3 separate regions of the Homo sapiens genome follow, and regions 1 and 2 are each linked to region 3. The links are contacts of gene promoters, found by promoter capture Hi-C in blood cells and fetal thymus (Javierre and others, 2016). All regions are on one chromosome and are shown on one strand. Each heading gives the region's core, a stretch centred on a gene start or on the middle of the fragment in contact. The rest is flanking DNA. Distances are from core to core; before and after follow the strand shown.

Evidence for each region. Contacts are between HindIII fragments. The CHiCAGO score rates a contact against its expected background, and 5 or more counts as called.
Region 1: a fragment that was not itself captured here is called in contact with the fragment with the promoter of EGFL6 in region 3 in 1 of 17 cell types (activated CD4 T cells); the score reaches 5.9 in activated CD4 T cells.
Region 2: a contact is called between the fragment with the promoter of GEMIN8 here and the fragment with the promoter of EGFL6 in region 3, in 7 of 17 cell types (neutrophils, total CD4 T cells, M0 macrophages and 4 more). The highest score is 11.4, in neutrophils.

What each region holds. Positions count from the first base shown.
Region 1 is chrX:14,050,383-14,053,805 of GRCh38, reverse strand. No RefSeq gene overlaps it. Among named protein-coding and RNA genes, the nearest start is that of GEMIN8, 22 kb to the right of the region's middle. The HindIII fragment of the contact is 1,685 bases long and covers 1,033-2,717 here.
Region 2 is chrX:14,027,969-14,031,204 of GRCh38, reverse strand. GEMIN8 (gem nuclear organelle associated protein 8) reads left to right here and starts at 1,313. Exons shown (of 5, transcript NM_001042479.2): 1 at 1,313-1,428. RefSeq lists silencers at 973-1,112, 1,147-1,346 and enhancers at 723-1,223, 1,224-1,724. The HindIII fragment of the contact is 15,884 bases long and covers 1-3,236 here.
Region 3 is chrX:13,568,005-13,571,502 of GRCh38, reverse strand. It overlaps EGFL6 (EGF like domain multiple 6), which reads right to left and starts at 1,902. Exons shown (of 12, transcript NM_015507.4): 1 at 1,568-1,902. The coding sequence starts at 1,641. The HindIII fragment of the contact is 1,986 bases long and covers 929-2,914 here.

The DNA of each region.
Region 1 (3,423 bases), core at 626-3,125, 480 kb before region 3:
AAATAACGTATTTTTGCCAAAGGTAGAATGTACTGAATAGGCAATTCATGGTACTTGAAAAGCAGAAGTAATGACAACAAATGGAAATACAGGCCACTGGCAGAAGAAACAAGGACAAATGATTGGGTAAACAAGACCCCCAAATTGGTTAAAATTTATAAAAGTGGGGCTCATAAGTGTAGAGCAATAAGCCCATGTGAGTTATAAGAGAGAGAAAAAAAACTGAGACATGATTATGGATAAAGATGAAAGACGAGCCTAGATATTATAAACAGCAGGCTAATATAAGTGCTGTACTGCTGCATGTCAGTTCACTGTTCCTAGAGGTGATACCCATATGCCATACAGAGAAGGGGAAGAAGGAAAGACCTCATATGTCCCAAGAATTTTCTGGGGCCCGTCTGGGTTTACAGTGTAAAATGATATAGCTCCAATAGGGTCTAGAAGAAGATTCCCTTCCTAAGAAGGAAAAAAATATGGCATTTGGGGAATGCTCACTGTGAATCAGGAGCGTCACATGTTACTTTACTTAATCTTCAAAAAAAAAAAAAGGAAGAGTATTACAATAGACCCTTGAACAACATGGATTTGAACTGCAAGGGTCCACTTATTTGTGGATCTTCTTCTGTCTCTGCCACCCCTGAGACAGCAAGACCAACCCCTCCTCTCCCTCTTCCTCCTCAGCTTACTCAATGTGAAGACAAGGATGAAGACCTTTGTGATGATCCACTTCCACTTAATGAATAGTAAAAATATTTTCTCTTCCTTATGATTTTTAACAGTTTTCTTTTCTCTAGTTTACTTTATTGTAAGAATACAGTATGTAATATGTATAACATACAAAATATATGTTAATCAACAGTTCATGTTATCAGTGAGGCTTCCAATCAACAGTAGGCTATTAGTAGTTAAGTTTTGGGGGAGGCAAAAGTTATACATGAAATTTTGACTGCAGGTGGGGGTTGGTGCCCTAACCCTCATGTTGTTCAAGGATCAGCCATATATTCATTTTAAAACCATAAAACTAAAGCTTTATTAAGCTCTTACTATGTATAAGCCCTTCACAAGCATTATCTCATTTTATCTTCACAACGATCCTTCAAGTAGGTATTACTGTCTCCAGTTTACATACAAGTATTAGCTGTACTGACCCTTGCTTTTGAGATTTATATGAGTTTGAAGTGAACCCCCATTTTATGAAAAACAAATGTTAGCTACAACTTTCTTAAGGGCTTACTTTATCATGGTTTCCTCTGCCTCTTAGCTCCTGCTTTACTGAATTTGTTTAGCTTATTAACTGTCTAATCACTCCATGTTTTCCCTTTTCCATTCCATTGTAGTCTAAACATTAGGCTTATTCCCTTTACTTAATACACACACACACACACACACACACACACACACACACACACACACCCAACCAAGACATTTATGTTTACAGCAAACTTGACCCAAGGTTTGGAAAAACAGCATGGGTTCACAACAGTAATACAAGTAACTGAAAACTAATATTAGCTCTCCCTATTCCTAAGAGTCCTTTTGCCACCCCCAACATTCCATGTAGCCCCCAAACTTTCTTACTGGCTCTTCTTTCCCTTTATTCCCTTACTCCTCCTCACTCAGAGCCAACAACAAATGAATAATTTCTCCCATATAATTTCTTATAGAAAATGACTTGGTCCTTCTTGAGTTCTGCATTTCTTCTCCAGACCCTTCTCTGAAGGCTTGGTTTTGATGGCCAAATTACCTATTGAGATATTTTTTCAAACAAGGACAGTTCCATCTCTAACAGGAATTCTGGTGCCAGCACACAAGAAATACAGATGAGGGAACCAAGGCTTGGAGGTGTCTAGAAACTAACCCTGTAAGGTTTGTTCTTGAGAGCTGCTTGTTCAATATAGAAGCCACCAGCCTCATGTGACCACTCAAATTTAAATTGTACTTAATTAAAATTGAATAAAATTAAAATTTCAGTTATTCATTCTCATTACCTCATTTCAAGTGCTCGAGTGCTCTTGTGTCTAGTGGCCATTGTACTGGACAGTGCAGATGTAGAGCAGTTCTACCAACCTGGAAAGTTCTATTGGACAGTGACACTTCCACAGTAGCCGTGTGGTTCCCAGACGCTGCTATCTCTTGTCCATGTGCCACTGCTGAAGATGGTGACATATCCCTCTCCTTCTTTTTATGTTGGACTGCCATCTGCTGTGCCATTTCTAAATGAAAAGAAATACACTGTCCAATTACAAGTATGGAGTCTATGAACAAGTCAGCCGATAATCTCTGCTGTCTGTGTGAAGGCCGCCTCTTAGGCTGCACAGTGTCCTGCCTTCAGATGAAGAAGTCCTCAGACCATACTCTGCCAAGGTTTCTACCTGCCCTGGAGGCCCATTGAGACTGCTTATCCTCCAGAAACAAAGGCCTTATTTCATAATCAAGGCACAGACCAATTTATGAACCTGAAGAAGCAGCAAGTCTTTTAAAGAGTGTTGGTGTTTCCCATTCACCCACCACACTCCCCAATCCTGGCTAACCTTTCAATGATAAAGTCCGACTGTCTCAAAGAAAAAGTGCTGTTAATGGTGTTACCTTGGTGATGATGCCCCAGTCCACTCCCTCTGTAACAGTTCTCACTGAATCCTTTCTTCTGATCTTTGAATTGTACTGAATTCTCTGATTCAGTTATTCAAACTGCCACCATTTCTTCATTTTAAGCTTTGATAGCAAGAGAGATGATTCATCAGGATTGAATGCCTTTAAGCCAATGGTCTCAGTGTGGCTGTACATTGCTGTCCCCTGGGAAGGTGGGAAAAATCCAGATGCTTAGGCACACTGAAAACCAATGACATGGGAATGTATAGGGTTGGGATCCAGGCAACAGCATTTTTAACACACACCAGATGATTCTGATGTGCAGCAGTAAGACAGGCACCACTGACTTAAGTGGAATGACTGTACTATAGAGATTCTCAAACCTCTGTAAGCAGTGACTAAGAAAGCTTTGCAAAAATACAGACTCCCAGGCTCCTCACCCACCAACTGAGTCACAGTCTTAGGACTTGGGATCGAGCTATTTGCATTTTTCTAAAGACCCACAAGAGATTCTAAAGGGAAGACAGATTTGTAAATACGTGCCTAGGTGCAGTTGCAGCCCTGCAGATATCAGGGCAAAACTGCAAGGCGAGAGAATTCTGCCTCTCTCTCTCTCCTGCACCTCCTCTCCAGCACGGTGCAAAAGCCCGCAGAGCCCTTTCCCACCTCCAGGTTTGGGTTTCATCTCTGCTTTCTAAAAAGGGAAACAAAAATAAAGCTAGAGTCTAGAAAATCTTCAGTTTGAAAGTTCCTAAGCAACGGATCCTTTTCTGTTTATAACTTTCCTGCTTCAGGATCAGCCTTTCTCTCTAGCACCCTGCCAATTTTGTA
Region 2 (3,236 bases), core at 64-2,563, 460 kb before region 3:
CCCCAAAACTGTATTGTTTACTACTGTGTATCCGGTAAATAGAATACCACGGTACAATAGAAATGCAATGCATGCCACATATATAATTTTAAATGTTCTAGTAGCCACACTAATAAAGTAAAAAGATAAAGATCAAATTTTAGTCTTTAACCTCAATAGTCCTTCTCTAAGATGTTATCACTATAAAGAAATTGAGGTATTTTACATTCTTTTTCTCATTCTTCTTCAAAATCTAGAGTGTAATTTACCCTTACAGTGTATCTCAGTTCAGACTACTACAATTCAGGTTCTCAGGGCCACATGTAGTGGTTACAATGGACAGCGCTAACATAGAATACTTGGCACATAGCCGGCATCCAGTAAATATTTGTTAAAGTTAATATTCTTCTATACCATTTTAATTCTTCTGTAGTCCAGGAATAATACAGTAATGTCACGTCATTAATACCACCCAATTGACTTAGCCATTTCCTTGTTGGGCATTTAGGTCTTTTCCAATTTTCACTTTTTAAAATAATTCTGTAATAAACATCTATCTGGTTCGTACCTGTTTTTCCTTGGAATAAATTCCCAGAAAGTATTAAATATGGTAATTGCCCCAGAAATGATATGTCACGTAAGACTTCTAATTGTTTATGCTTGGTTCTTGTTAATGACTCTTGTAATGTTAACAGGGCAGGTATTGCTGTGATGGTTATAATTACAAACATATTAGTACTAATGTTTTGTCTGCTGCAATGCATCAGGCACTCTGCATTAGGTTATGCATATCTTATAGATGAGACACACGAGGCTTGGGGAAGTTACAAACTTAGCACTGGACTCGCACTCAAACTGAGATCTGGGTTAATCTATTTTCAAAGACTGGGTGTTTTACGCTGGGACAAATTAAGAAACTAAAACTGTTTTAGTTAAGAAAGAAAACAGAAAGGAAGAAAGAAAAGGCTAAGTAAAGACAAGGGAAGGAAAACGAAGAAAGCTGAGGAAAGGACAAAAAGTTAAAGGCTGGAAACCCGGGCGGTGCAGAAGCGACCCTTATCTCGCCGGTGCAGAAGCACCGTCCGACCCCCGGCGCGGGTGCCCGCCACAGTCCCAGTGCCCCGCCCGGTGCAGCTCCCTCTCCGCCGGCCCCGCCACCCGCAGCCATCCCACGCCTGCCGCCCCGGCGCTCCACTCGGGGTAGCCGATTAGCAGGCAGCTTCCGGCCTCCAGCACTGCACCGCCTGCGGTGCGAACGTGACGTCCGCGACACAGGGGGGGACTTCCGGCGCGCCGCGCCACGCCACGTGTTCCGCACCGGAAGCGCGCTTCCAGTCGCCCCGGCAACAGCCGCCTCCCTCGCGTCCCCCACTCCCCCTCTGTCTCTCCAAGGAAAACTAGGCCCCTGCGCGGCCAACGCCCAGGATCCGCAAGCTGCGCGCCCACGAGGTGACTTCGGGGACGGCTGGGTTTCCTTTGGGGAGTGAGGGAGGAGCTTAGACGCCCCGGGCCCTGGCTTCTTCTGATGCGCAGAGAGCCGAGGTCTTGGACGTCACGTTGCTCTCATAATTATCTTAATCCCGCGACAAAAGGTGGGGCCGGAGGCCCATGAGATTCCTAAATCATTGCAGGTTAATTGTGAGAGGGGACCAGTCCCAGAGGCTCTCAGCTCTGCAGTGCTTCCGAATCACTGGACGACTCTTTAAGAATTCTGATCCCCGGGCCCCCATCCCGGACCAATGAAATCAGAATCTCTAATAGTGGGGCCCTGGCATCGGTAGTTTTTAAAGCTGCCCAGGTGATTCTGGGGTGCCGAGAACCACCGTGTTAAGGTCTGTAGGTGAATTCGGATTTTGCCCATCCAGTCCAGTATCTGAATAGAAGATCGCCCAGGACAGCCACATACTTGAAGGATGTCTAGGATATTGCCCTCTCTGCTCAAAAATTCGGGTTTCTTTCTTTTCTCTTGCACTTTAACCTCTGCAGGAGGTCAGCTTTTGGTGGGAGTTATCTTGAGACATCTGGCGCCTACAGTTTATGGGCCTTGTGTCTCTGCCCACTTATCAGTAATGAGCTGTAATTGAACCAGTGGCCAACGAAGTGCATTTTAGCTCTGAAATCTTGATGTTCCCTTAGTACAGATCAGATGGTTCTGAACAATTTTATTTTTTTCAGGAATGATGTTTTTAAACTCGTTTGACAGGCTAGGCTGTGTATTCAGCTGTTCTTCATCTCAAATCAGAACAATATTACTTAAAAAATCTAGACTAAAGATTAGTAACGCAACACTTCTAGGATTATTTATGCTCACAGCCCCCATGAATTGTAGGATGAGAGCTACCCTTTAAAAATACTATTTTTGCTAGCATAATTTATCGGAATAACAGTCTCTTTGTAATTTCAATGTGAACAGAAACCATATATTTTTAAAGACTGCTGGTTAGTAACTTGGAATAAGCATAACTGAAAGCAAGTTCACAGGTGTATAAATCCCCTCTGTGTGTTCATTGCTGTGCTGGGGAAGTATACAAACTAAAGTTCCAGAGAGAAATGTTCATTCTGAAACTGTTCTATAGATGGTGATTAATCATTTTGGGTTTTTTTTTAAAGGATAGGGTGAGATGAGAATGACGGGGGAAAGTTTTGAACAGTTAAGGCTAGAGTGTAAATTGGAGAGTTTGCAAAGTAGGTACAGAACTTTTTTTGAACAACTTCTCTACAAGAGGAAATTCAGCCACGGAACAGCTGGACAAGTGAAAAAAGAATGTAGTTGATCAAATATCAGATGAATTGAAAAGATCTTTGAAAACATAATGTATTTAAATATTTGCTTCCTGAAAAGATTTGGTGCTTTATAGTCAGTTTTTTGAGTTACTAGGTCCTCAGAGATTTTGGGGAGTAGATGCAGGAGGAGAGAACGTTATCAGGAAACAACAGACAAGCTCAACAATTTCAGCAGCATCTAAGAGCATGAAATATTAGCTATTATTTTTATGCTGGAAGGAAAATAGGAAACTTAAAAGGAGTAGATTGTAGAATCCATGCCTACAGGTAACTGAGTAAGTGCCCAAGTAAATGAGGCATAGTGAGTGCCTATAAATTCAGAAAAGAGAGATTAACATGGAATTACCGTGAATATGTTTATAGAAAAAAGTAAATTTGAAATAAGACGCCTGAAATGTACTAGCGATCTTAACTACTTTAAACTAGCCATGGTTTTTGCTGTTATGCTCTTAATTTGCAGAACCTGCCTATTC
Region 3 (3,498 bases), core at 653-3,152:
TAGCAACGCAAGAACCTCTAGCATTCAAGGAAAATGTGATTATGAGCAAATTGCATCTGCTTACATTTTTATCATGAAAAGGAAATTGAAACTTGCGATCATACATTCTAAGAACCTGGTTTGAGGTTTGTTCTGTTTTAACTTCGAAATCCTTTAATACCATGGCTAACTCTGATGAAATATTTTTTCCTGTAAGTCAAACAAAGATAGGCAAACCTTCGAGAAGCCTGTACCAAACCAAAGCTCTTATCCTACTCTCCTCAGGAATCATCACTGAAAAATTTCTATAGTTCAGCAGTCTCCGCTAGGAGCAATTGTGCCCTCCAGGGACCTTGGGCAATATCCCAAACCTTTTTTTTGTTGCCACAACTTGGTGGTGGTGGTGGTGGTGGGGGGTGGGGTGGGGTCAAGGTTGCTACTAGTATCTAGTGAGTAGAGGCCACAGGTGCTGCTAAACATCCTACAATGCACAGGGCAGCCCATCACCCCAACAAATAATTATCCAGCCCAGCCCGAAAGGTCAATAATGCTGCGGTGGAAAAACCATATTCTAGTGGACACCTAAGTAGAAAGCAAGACATCACAGTTAGAGAACCAGAAAACCTCTTCCGTTGCCGGAAGGCTGCCCTAGTGCCCTGGTGAAGAACAGACTTTGGGCCAGAATACCTAGGTTTGCACCCTGGCTCCATCTCTTACTGGCTATGCTTCCTCAGGCAAATTACTTTACCTCTCTGTGCCTCGTTTTTCTCTTCTACAACACGGAGATGATGATAATAGTACCTTACACACAGAGCCATTATGGCTTTGGGTAGGTTAATAGTCCTGAAGTGCTTAGAACAGTGCCAGGTCGACAGTCACCATGTAAGCGTGCATTTACTAAGCGTCTTTGCCGATCTCTGGAAAAAATATTTCAGGTCTCAGCTAAGCTTAAGGGCAGTAGGGAACGGCTTCAGAGTCTGCATTGCCATAGCAAGAATGAGAATGGTTGTCATCTGACAACCGTGTCCTTTCTTTCCAGTTCATCAACCCTAATCAGAGAGCAGTGAGGAGAGCAGCCCGGCTGGCTCAGCTCAAGAACAGTAAATGCTTTATCGTCCTCGGTTTCTTTCCCTCCTTCCCCAGCAAAACTAGCGACTGACAAGCACTTGGTGTCCTGTGAATAGAGTGGAAAACACAAAACCGCACAGACACAGAACCCACCCACCGACACGCATACCAACCCTCACACACCTGCCCCTACAGCAGGTCTGCAGACCATCAAGCCCGCACGCACCCACGGGTCTGCGTGCAGAGCCTCCCTCCTCCTGCAACCCTCCGGACGCAGCCAGGTGGGGCACAGCTGATGCAAAAGGAGCTAACTAGGTGCAAAGCCCCGCCACAGGAGAGCAGGGAGGAAAGCCCGTGGGCGCTCCCGGCCTGGTATCCAGGTTAAATCCCGTCGCAGCGCGCACAGGCACACGTGCACACTCACACCCATACACGCGGGGGTGCCTGCAAAGACATGGGGCCCCAAAGCGGGACCTCAGGCCGGGGGTGGGGGGAAGCCAATCGCCAGTCAGACACTCACCTGGCCGCGTTCCCGAAACCACCTGCCACCCAGGAGAGCAGCAGCGGGAGCGCAAGGCTCCAGGGCAGAGGCATTCTCGCACGGGTCCTCCTTCCTCCTCCTGAGCCCCCCTCGGGAGGGCGCCGGCCGGACCCCGTAGCAGCTAAGCCGCCGCCTCCTCTCTCCTCAGCCGCTCGGGTCCTCCGCTCCACTCGCAGTTACCGGGTGCTGTCCCTGCAGTCTGGGAGGGGAGGCCAGGCACCGCGGCAGGGGCGCTCGCGGCCTGGGGAGGGGCTGGGGGCGCCCTGGCAAGCCTGGCCGAGGCTCCTCTGCGGATGAAGCTGGACGGGGTGAGCGAGGGAGGGCGGGGCGGGCTGTGCACATCTGGCTGGGACCCGCCTCCAGCATGACCCGCGCATCCTCCGCGCTCTCTGTTCACCCAGAAACTTCCCCCAGATTCAGGTCACTTCACGCTTGTCAGAGTCACCATCTACTACCATGTATTTCAGGCATGGGGCAAATTTCGGTGATACCTGCACTCCAGGACTTAAGAATTTAGTTGAGAAGTCGAAGCAGGATGGAAGGATGCAGGTTCCTAAGACATGATCCCTCACTTCTCTTTGGGTTTTCACGTTCTCCCGGTTTTCTTCTACAAACTGCAAATAATGGGATGCTAGAGCTGGAAGGTCACTAAGTCCTGGGCAACCCTGTCATTTGGCAAGTAATCTCTCAGGCCCATTTGCAACAGCTTACTTACATGGGACCCCAGATGACATCCCAATATAGTAACCAGTGCAGAAATTCATGGCAGAAACATGAATGCTATATGAATTCAGATCCATTTGGGTACTGACACATTCTTTGTTCTGACAACGTGTTACATTAGAATGAATGACTGATCCCTTTCTGTCCTTCCTACGTCCACACCCTTTGGCTTCATGGTAGGCAGACACTATGACCCCACACCTTGGCTTTGGACTTGGCCGTGTGACTTGTTTGATCAATGGTTTAAGGGCAGAAAAGTTGCAGTGTTCCAGTTCCAAGCCTAGGTCTTAACACACCTGACCCTCTATCATGGACATGAGAAGACCTTGCACCACCTAGCCTGGTGGTCCAAGGCGAATGAGAAACAGGTGAAAAAGCTACCTCGTCAACCTGCAGATCTATAGCTTGAAGCAGAGCTACTCGGTGGAGCCTCATGTATATTACCCAATCCACACGTATATGAATGAGCTCAGCTAAGGTTGCCCGGCACCAGCCAATCTACTGAGGCTTATTGTGATAGTCCTCTGACACACAGTGGCCCAGTGTGAGAAATGAAATGAAAAAGGATACAGAGAAAGAGGAGGTTTATCTTGATTGGAAGCTTGATTCATGGTTTTATAGGCATATGCCTTAATTCTGGCCAATGAAATGTGAGAAGTAGGGAGGGGGGAGATTCTTGCTGCAGAATCTTGCTTTACATTGTAATAGATGTTCTTATTGGTGCAAGCCATGTTTAGTTGGGACTTCTATTTTACAGTTGAAGGTATCCCCATGGATTCAGTATTCTTGGGTAACTAGTTAGACCATTGAGCTGCTCGTAATTAATAGTGTCAGACCTTGTCCTAAACACATATGTTATCTGATTGAACATCCACAAGCCTGTGGATGGAGACCATTAGTTCCCCCATGTTTGAAGTGTCAAGAAACTGAGTCGGAGAGGTTAAGCAGCTTGCCCGACCAAGGTCATACAGCTAACAAGTATAGAACCAGAACTGGAAACCAGGGCTTTTCCCCATTGGGCTCTGCTGCTGTTATATCAATCTCTTTTCTCATCTTCTCACGTATTGGCAGATTCACATGTCAGATGAGTATCATGAATAAGGTAATAAGATGAGCTCTTCAAGGTTGTCATCAAAACACTTTGAACTCTTCATACCATAACTTATTTTATTTACTGAAATATTAAA